3 separate regions of the Homo sapiens genome follow, and all the other regions are linked to region 3. Evidence: promoter capture Hi-C in human tissues and cell types (Jung and others, 2019). All regions are on one chromosome and are shown on one strand. The core of a region is centred on a gene start or on the middle of the fragment in contact, and the rest is flanking DNA. Distances in the headings are between cores, read along the strand shown. Region 1 overlaps KNTC1 (kinetochore associated 1). Region 2 overlaps PITPNM2 (phosphatidylinositol transfer protein membrane associated 2). Region 3 holds the start of HIP1R (huntingtin interacting protein 1 related).

Region 1 (2,700 bases), core at 174-2,673, 210 kb before region 3:
TGAATAATATCATCAATAAGAAGGAGTTTGGGATTTTGGCAAAGACCAAATACTTTCAAATGTTGAAGATGCATGCGATGAATACCAACAATATCACTGAGCTAGTGAACTATTTGGCAAATGACTTAAGGTAAGTTAATTAAAAAAAAAAAAACTTACTGTGGAATTTCCTTAAAATCTATCTTTATAAGCTGGGCACGATGGCTCACGACTGTAATCCTAGCACTTTGGGAAGCTGAGGTGGGTGGATCACCTGAGGTTGAGAGTTCAAAACCAGCCTGACCAACATGGAGAAACCCTGTCTCTACTAAAAATACAAAATTAGCCGGGCATGGTGGCACATACCTGTAATCCCAGCTACTAGGGAGGATAAGGCAGGAGAATCTCTTCAACCCGGGAGGCAGAGGTTGCAGTGAGCCGAGATCGCACCATTGCACTCCAGCCTGGGCAACAGGAGCGAAACTCTGTCTCAAAAAAAAAAAAATCTATCTTTATGTTGGAGCAGAATGTCAACTGTAGAGCTATTTGGTTGTAATTAAAAGCTCAAAATATTACATCTCTCATTACTGCACATATCCAAAAGTTAATCATTTAATAACCCAATTTCTTGGAATATGACCTTAGAATCTGACAATTAAACAGGTCATCTGAACCCCCAAATCAAGTGTCTCACAGCCCTGTTCTAAATCCTACATTACAATTTTATGTCTAGACACTTGCTCAGAACATTAATGACTTTATGTAGCATCACTTTTGTTAAACCTGGTTATCTAATTTTCCAGCACCCACAAGTTTAGAAACAATAAGCTTCTTGGGATAGAGCTGGGGGTGGATATGGAAACTGAACGGGAGAAGGAAGAAGTGGGCTGACACTAAAGAAAGGGAAGTTCAAGACCGCAGTACACACCAGATCCATCCCTGCATGTGGTCTAGCCATGTTGGCGCTTGAGAGGTCTTTCTTTCTCATTACCACTCCATGGATTTCCATCTGCTTGTTTATCTCTTGTGATCCAGCCATAATTAGATATTGTCATTTTTGAGCAAGTATTTTTTGAGTTATAATTGATACATATAATAAGCTGGACATACTTGAAGTCTGCAATTTAGTAAATTTTGACATATGTATACCTATAAAGCCATCACCACAATCAAGAGAGTGAACATAATTCTCTGAAAGTTTCCTCATGCCCTCTGTGAAGTTGATTACATGAATTAGGTCATTCTTGTGATACCCAAATTCATCAGAGTCGAGGGGCCCAGGGGAAAAGCACTCAGAGTACAAAACATTGCTCCAAAAACATAATTCTGGCCGGGCGCAGTGGCTTACTCCTGTAATCCCAGCACTTTGGGAGGCCGAGGCGGGTGGATCACCTGAGGTTAGGAGTTCAAGACCAGCCTGGCCAACATGATGAAACCCTGTCTCTACTAAAAATACAAAAAGTTAGCCGAGCATGGTGGCGCATGCCTGTAATCCCAGCTACTCGGGAGGCTAAGGCAGGAGAATCGCTTGAACCCAGGAGGTGGAGGTTGCAGTGAGCCGAGATCGCACCATTGCACTCCAGCCTGTGCAACAAGAGTGAAACTCTGTCTCACAAAAAAGAAAAAAAAGAACAATGTGTAACATGTCTCTTTTTCATAAAACCTCTAACCTTCTCTTTGTTCTTTGGACAATCCAGAGACTACCCAGTCTATGTATATGCCCCAAATTGGAATTATTTCTTCCCAAATAAAACATTAAATTCAGAGATTGGTCTTTACATTTTAATTTTGACTTCAATGCCTCTTTTTCTTTTCTTTTCTTTTCTTTTTGAAATAGGGTCTTGCTTTGTCACCCAGGCTGGAGTGCAGTGGTACAAACGTGGCTCACTGCTGCCCCAACCTCCTGGGTTCAAGCGATCCTCCTACCTCAGTCTCCAGAGTAGCTGGGACTACAAGTGTGCAACACCACACCTGGCTAATTTTATATTTTTTGTAGAGACAGGGCTTTGCCATGTTGCCCAGGCTAGTCTCAAACTCCTGGACCCAAGCCATCTGTACATCTTGGCCTCCCTGAGTGCCGGGATTGTAGGCACAAGGCACTGTGCTTGGCCTAACACTTCTTTTTCTTTTTGATTTTGTAGTTTAGATGAAGCTTCAGTCTTGATAACTGAATATTCAAAGCACTGCGGGAAACCTGTGCCTCCAGACACTGCTCCCTGTGAAATTCTGAAGGTAAAGCTGATGGAAAGTTCTTAGGTTCTAACTTGACATTGTTTATATTCCTAGGGCCTTAAAATTGACAAGCCTTTTCTAGTGTTCTGGAGATAAATGTATTTTTATGTGTAACTGTAATTTTTATATTTTACTTTTTGTGTTAGAGAGTTCTAAACTAGAAATCAAGAGACCACAGTTCTAATCTCAGCCCTGCCACTGGGCAGCAAAGCCTAATGTGGGCTTAGTCTTCAGATCTGGACCCCATGGTCTCTCAGGTGCTTTCCAGCATTACCATTCCTCATAAGGTGGTGTTTTTAATATTGAAGCAGGTGAAAAACTGAATTCTAAAAGGTGTTGATTATTGTCATGCTTGGGTATTAATTGCTTTTTAAATTAATTATTATTCTTTAATTACCTAAAACGTATATTCACTGCAGAAAAAAAAGAAGTATGGCTGGGCACGGTGGCTCACACCTGTAATCCCAGCACTTTGGGAGGCCAAGGGGC
Region 2 (2,700 bases), core at 32-2,531, 230 kb after region 3:
CCTTCAAGAATTCACCTTCATTCACCAAAGCACCCTGAGCTCCTTGCCTTGGCACTGGAAGTCTTTGCACAGGCTGGTGAACTGACACCCTCACCCGTGAGGACCCAGCCCGTCTGGGTGCCATCACCTGGGTCTCCACCTCCACCGGGAAATTCTGACCTACTAAGTTGACCTAGCTCCTGACCTAACTCAAGAGCCACCTTGGCAGTAAAGCCACCCTGACCCTGTGACAGTCCCTCTGCCAAGCCCCCAGCGCCTGACACTTCCACCCAATGCTCACTCAGCAGCTCATCCTGCATGAATGCAGAGTGGCCTGGAGGGAAGTGACTGCACACAGGATATACAGACTCTCCCACCACAAATAAACAAGCGATTCTGTCAACAAAAGAGCCAGAAGAAAACTGCACTCCTATTGGAAAGGGATGAGGAGCGCAGAGGCTGCAAGGAGGGTACCAAGTCAGAGCTGGGAAGGCCCAAGGCAGGGTGGAAGGTGGAGCTCAGAGAGGGTTCCAGGGTCCCTGGGTATAGGCACGGTCCTCCTTATAGGTCACCACCTAAGGGGGCAGCAGTCCTTAAGGGTGCCAGGTTGACATAGGTGGGGTCACAAACCTCAGAAACTGAAGAACTTGCAATCCAACCCTATCATTGGGTAGATGGAAAAATTAAGGCCCAGAAAAGGGCAGACAGTTGATCTACTCATCCTTCCACCTATGCATCCCTACTCGCATCTACCCATGCATCCCTTCACCCATGCATCCACCTATCCATCTACCCATGTAGCTACCGCGCCATTCACTCATGCATGCATCCACTGATCCATCCACCCATGCATTCATCCACCCATGCATCCATCCACCCATGCATCCATCCATCATCTACATAGGGCAGGGGTGGGACTAGAGCCCAGAGCCTCTGCCTCTAAACCCAAAGGTCTTCACAACGGGTCACAGTTGACTTCTTTACACTCACGGCAGCTCTGGGAAACTTTCTGACCCCTTAATGGGTATACAGGAAGAAAGACCCTGCTAGTGGAATGGGGGAAGGGTAACAGGGCTCATGACAAGGCACGGTCTATGCAGGATGCCTGCCCTAAGGCCAATCCTCATCAACAGCTCTGTGAGGGCAGCCAACCCTAAGCCCACTCTGCAGATGAGGAAACAGGAAACAAGCTCTGGAGAGGTCTGCTGACGTGCCTACAATCCAAGGATGGTTAACCACTACAGCCATAACCCTGTCCCAGATCTCTCCACTGTCCAAGAGTAGGCCCTCTCACTGCACTATGGCACGTCAGGCATGGCTTGGGCAGGGTGGATAGGAGGCGTCCCAGTGGGCAAGAAGCTTCTCAGACCAAAGGCTTCTGAGCCAGGGTCAATGTGGTGGATGGTGGGAGTCATTGGTCATCACAAGATGATGCGTCTCACAGGAAATGGGAAAGAACTTGTACACTGGGGAGTCAGAAAAAGGGGGAAGCCTGGGGCTTTCAGGCCCTGACAAAGCTCCTGCATCCAAGGGAGCTTCTGAAGGTTGTAGGAGAAGGTGGCTGCTAGCAGGGTCCCCAAGAACAGCTGCCGACAGAGTTTGGACAAAGTTATGCCATCTCCCTATGTGCCAGTGGCTTCAGAGAGTTCTGGAGGAAAGACCCAAGAGCCGGAGCAGCTATGAGGGCTGGCTGCTGGGAAGAGATGGAGTTGGGTGCGGAGGAAGGCACAGGTGTTCTAACAAAGGGACTCTGAGAAGCAGGAACTACGGTGTAGAGGTAGGCGGTAAGTTCCTAGGGAGGCCCTGCAGCAACTGAGGGGCCCCTGCTCCTCCTCCTCCTTCTCCCTGCCAAGTAGAGCAGCCTGGCTTGCATCTGTCTGCTCCCCTCCGGTGCACCTGGGACCCTGATGCTTGCTGCTTCCCATTTCAACAAATCCAGGGAGACAGGTTCCTGAGTCCCCAGACTCCCTCCCAGACAGGCAGCCAGGTGGAAGGGAAAGTTTGGGGTCCAGCGCCTGCACTTCTCATCTCTCCGTCCTTAGATCTGATACTTGCAACTGAGCCTTGGTTTACTCATCTGTAAAGGGAGGTGGTAATACGTCCAGTGAGGGGGTAGAACACTATGCCTGGCAACCAAGATGTGTTCTGTCACCCACAGGAATACTAAAAATATCTAACCCCTGGGCACTGCTGCTGGCTGTGGGGCTGGGGGAATCCTGGAGGTGCCTGTGGACAGCATTGCCCACTTAGCTCCAGAAATCCCAGGGAAGGGACAATAAGGGGGACGGGGCAGGGGCAGAGGCTATTTACCAGCAAAAAAAAGTACAGCACTCTTGCTCTTGGGGCTAGATGTATCTAGGATTTCAGAATATCCTGAACTTTAGACAGGTAAAGCTGCATATCTCAGCAGCATCCAATAAACAAATACATTGAACTCTCTGCAGTGAAAGACATGAATATAGAATACATAAAGACTATAAATAGCCTCACTTGGACTATAAATAGCCTCACCTCAGTTCAGGAAAAATTTTGCTGCCAAATGAGTTACAAAAAAGTGTCTGGTTTTCAGTGTGCTGGATTTTGGAATTGAGGATAAGGAATTGTGGATCTGCACATCAATGTTTTCACCACATATCTGTGTGAACCAACTGCATATCACCCCTGCTTCACCCCACTACCAATGCAGGACAGATGAGGGGTGACATGTGCTCTGCCTCTAAA
Region 3 (2,700 bases), core at 17-2,516:
GCCTAGGCAACAAGAGTGAAGCTCGGTTAAAAAAAAAGAAAAGAAAGAAAGAGAAGAAAAGAAAAGAAAGAAAGAAAGAGAAAGAAAGAAGAGAGAGAAAGAGAGAAAAGAAAGAAAAGAAGGAGGAAGGAAAGGAAAGGGAAAGGGAAAGGAAAGGAAAGGAAAGGAAAGGAAAGGGTCTCTGACCTCAGACAGGTTACAGTCTCACTAGGGAGACAAGGGTCAGGATTACGTGGGCGTCATTTTCCTCCTTACAGGCAGGCGGTGCCTCTCCCTTCAAAAGCAAGGGACCTTTATGCATGATTCCACATCTGCATTCCGATAGGAAAGGGAAACAGCAGAAACACAATACCCATCTGAGAGCTACGCTTAGAGAGGACTCTGGGCTTTTATTTATTTTTTTACTTCAGTCTTGTGACCAGTAATTTTAAGGGAAAGCCAATAATAATGTTTTTAAAAAGCCTCACGCCACCCCTGGCGGCATCTCCTCGGTGTACTTTGCTGTTCAGATCCGCCTGCCTTCTGTGCCAGCCTAACAGCGCCCGGCCTCAGCCCCCATTGTCCCTGGAGCTGGCGAGGTGTCCGGTTGCGGAGCCGGCGGCGTCTCTGGAAATGCATCCTGCATCCCCGCATGGATAACAGCTGCAGCTATGTCAGAATTGCACAAAGAGGGGAGAGTGTCATTGTGTGCCTTTTGACACATACATTAAGACCAAAAAGGAAAAAAAGCGTCTATCTGTGCTGCCACCGACCAGACTCATGGAGGCCAGATTTTCTCCAATTAACCAGATCTTGCCCTGGTGCAGACAAGACTTAGTGAGTTCGGAGGAGGGGTGGGGAGAGGGAATTGGCTGGGGTCCCTACCCTGGGTGGAAGGAGGAGGGAGGGGTTCCCCCTCCCCCTTCCCCTACCCTCCCCTCCGGGTTTAGGGAGGGGATTAGAGGTGGGGAGGAGCTGGGGGGGCGTTTGGCCTGTGCCCCAACCTTGTGAGTGAGGTGGGGGTTGGAGGTGTGCGGGGGGCGGGGCGTGTGCCGGGGTCGCCGCGGGATGGGGGGTTGGGGATGTGCGGGGAGAGGCGCGTGTCCCGAGATCGCGGGGGGTGGGGTTGGAGGTGTGCGGGTGGAGGGGCGCGCCCTGGAGTTGGGGGCGGGCGAGGCGTTTGCGGGCGCGGGGGGCGGGTTTGGAGGTGTGCGGGGGAGGGGCGTGCCCTGGAGTTGGGGGCGGGGCGAGGCGGGCTCCTCCCCGGCGGGCGGGCCCGGGCGCGGCGCGGTGGCCTCGCGGTGCCTAGGCTGGGGCTGCCGGACCGTGAGGCTGTGAGTCGCGCGGACGGAGCCGGACAAAAGCGGGCGGCGGCGGCAGGATGAACAGCATCAAGAACGTGCCGGCGCGGGTGCTGAGCCGCAGGCCGGGCCACAGCCTGGAGGCCGAGCGCGAGCAGTTCGACAAGACCCAGGCGAGCGGGCGGCGGGCGGCGGGCGGCGGGCGGCGGCGGGCGGGCGGGCAAGCGGCGTCCCTGACCCCTCACGCGCGAACGGCTGGGGCCCGGGAGGCGCCGGCCAGGGGCGGGGGACGGCGCGGGGGCAGGGCCTGTGTCCGCCCGGGCTCTCCGAGAGCTCCGCTGCCGCCCCCCGCCGGCCTCCGCGGCCCGAGCCGACCGGCGCGCAGGTGAACCGGAAGCCGCGCTCCCCGCTCCCGCCGGGCGCTCGGGCCCAGAGGCGCCGGGGCTGAGGGGGCCGGGGTCAGGGTGTGCGCGGGCCGGGAGCGCCGGAGCTGAGGCGGCGGGGGACGGAGATGGGGCCGGGGTTGGGTGTGCGCGAGCCCAGCGCGCCGGGGGTCGAGGGGGCTGGGGATCCAGGTGCTCCCGGGGCCGGCGCGGCCCGACTGGGGTCCCCGACCTTCCGTGCCGCTCCTTGCCGGCTCCTGCCCCCGTCTCCTACCCCCTGAAACCGATGCCCCCACGGGCAATTTCCTTAAAGGAAATTCCTTAAACTCCCAGCTTCCTTCTCTCGTGAGCGGTTTCCCAGGGCTGCACAGTCTCCTATTATTTGCTGGGTGAAAAGCTTCTCGTATGTCGCCAGACTTGTTTGCCCGAGCGCTGCCCACGTATAAATAGGTGCACACCCCCTCATTAAATACCGGCGCCCGACAGACAGAAACTTCCTGGGGCTCCCTTCCTGCGCCTCCCACGCTTGTAACTCTTCCAGATGATGCCTATCCTGGGAAGGCGTTAGAAATGAAATAAGGGCGCGGGTGTGCGTTTTGTACTTGTGTTTGTGCCGGGGACCCACGATGCAGACGTTGCTGCGTTTCTGGTTTCCTGTTGCTTTTTATTTTACAAACTCTTGAAGTGCTCTCAGGCTTGGGGGATGGGCGGTGGAGGGGGGCATACTTGTTTATTTGCCAAAATAAGTCAACCAAGACTGAAATGGCTGAAAAATTTTACTCTAGAGATAAAGGAAGCCAGAGGACCCCTCCCACTCCTGTCTAAAGCAGGTTGGTGACATTTGCGTTTGTGGCGGCTATTTGCAAGTTCCGTCCCACTTGTCCTTGCAGAGAGCTATGACTTCTGCGGTTGCCTTCACATCTAGTTAGCACACGCACTCTACAACAGCTTTCGTTTTGAAATGAGAGAGAACGCAGGGAGACCTTCTAACCTTTGTGCTTGGGATTGACCCAGAAAGCGATAATAAATCCTGAGGA

What was found. Contacts are between HindIII fragments. The study calls those that stand out against the background at their distance.
Region 1: a contact is called between a fragment that was not itself captured here and the fragment with the promoter of HIP1R in region 3, in 2 of the 25 tissues and cell types used here (IMR-90 fibroblasts and lymphoblastoid cells).
Region 2: a fragment that was not itself captured here is called in contact with the fragment with the promoter of HIP1R in region 3 in 3 of the 25 tissues and cell types used here (H1 embryonic stem cells, dorsolateral prefrontal cortex and liver).

The regions. Positions count from the first base shown.
Region 1 is chr12:122,622,478-122,625,177 of GRCh38, forward strand. It overlaps KNTC1 (kinetochore associated 1), which reads left to right. Exons shown (of 64, transcript NM_014708.6): 62 at 1-130; 63 at 2,121-2,211. Among named protein-coding and RNA genes, the nearest start is that of MIR9902-1, 72 kb to the right of the region's middle. The HindIII fragment of the contact is 3,781 bases long and covers 1-2,700 here.
Region 2 is chr12:123,060,232-123,062,931 of GRCh38, forward strand. The region is part of intron 2 of PITPNM2 (phosphatidylinositol transfer protein membrane associated 2); the gene reads right to left. Among named protein-coding and RNA genes, the nearest start is that of PITPNM2-AS1, 20 kb to the right of the region's middle. The HindIII fragment of the contact is 7,256 bases long and covers 1-2,700 here.
Region 3 is chr12:122,834,191-122,836,890 of GRCh38, forward strand. It overlaps HIP1R (huntingtin interacting protein 1 related), which reads left to right and starts at 1,267. Exons shown (of 32, transcript NM_003959.3): 1 at 1,267-1,453. The coding sequence starts at 1,361. It overlaps LOC124903040 (a long non-coding RNA gene), which reads right to left and starts at 1,043. Exons shown (of 2, transcript XR_007063501.1): 1 at 984-1,043; 2 at 365-648. RefSeq lists an enhancer at 869-918 and silencers at 1,169-1,408, 1,579-1,778. The HindIII fragment of the contact is 9,768 bases long and covers 1-2,700 here.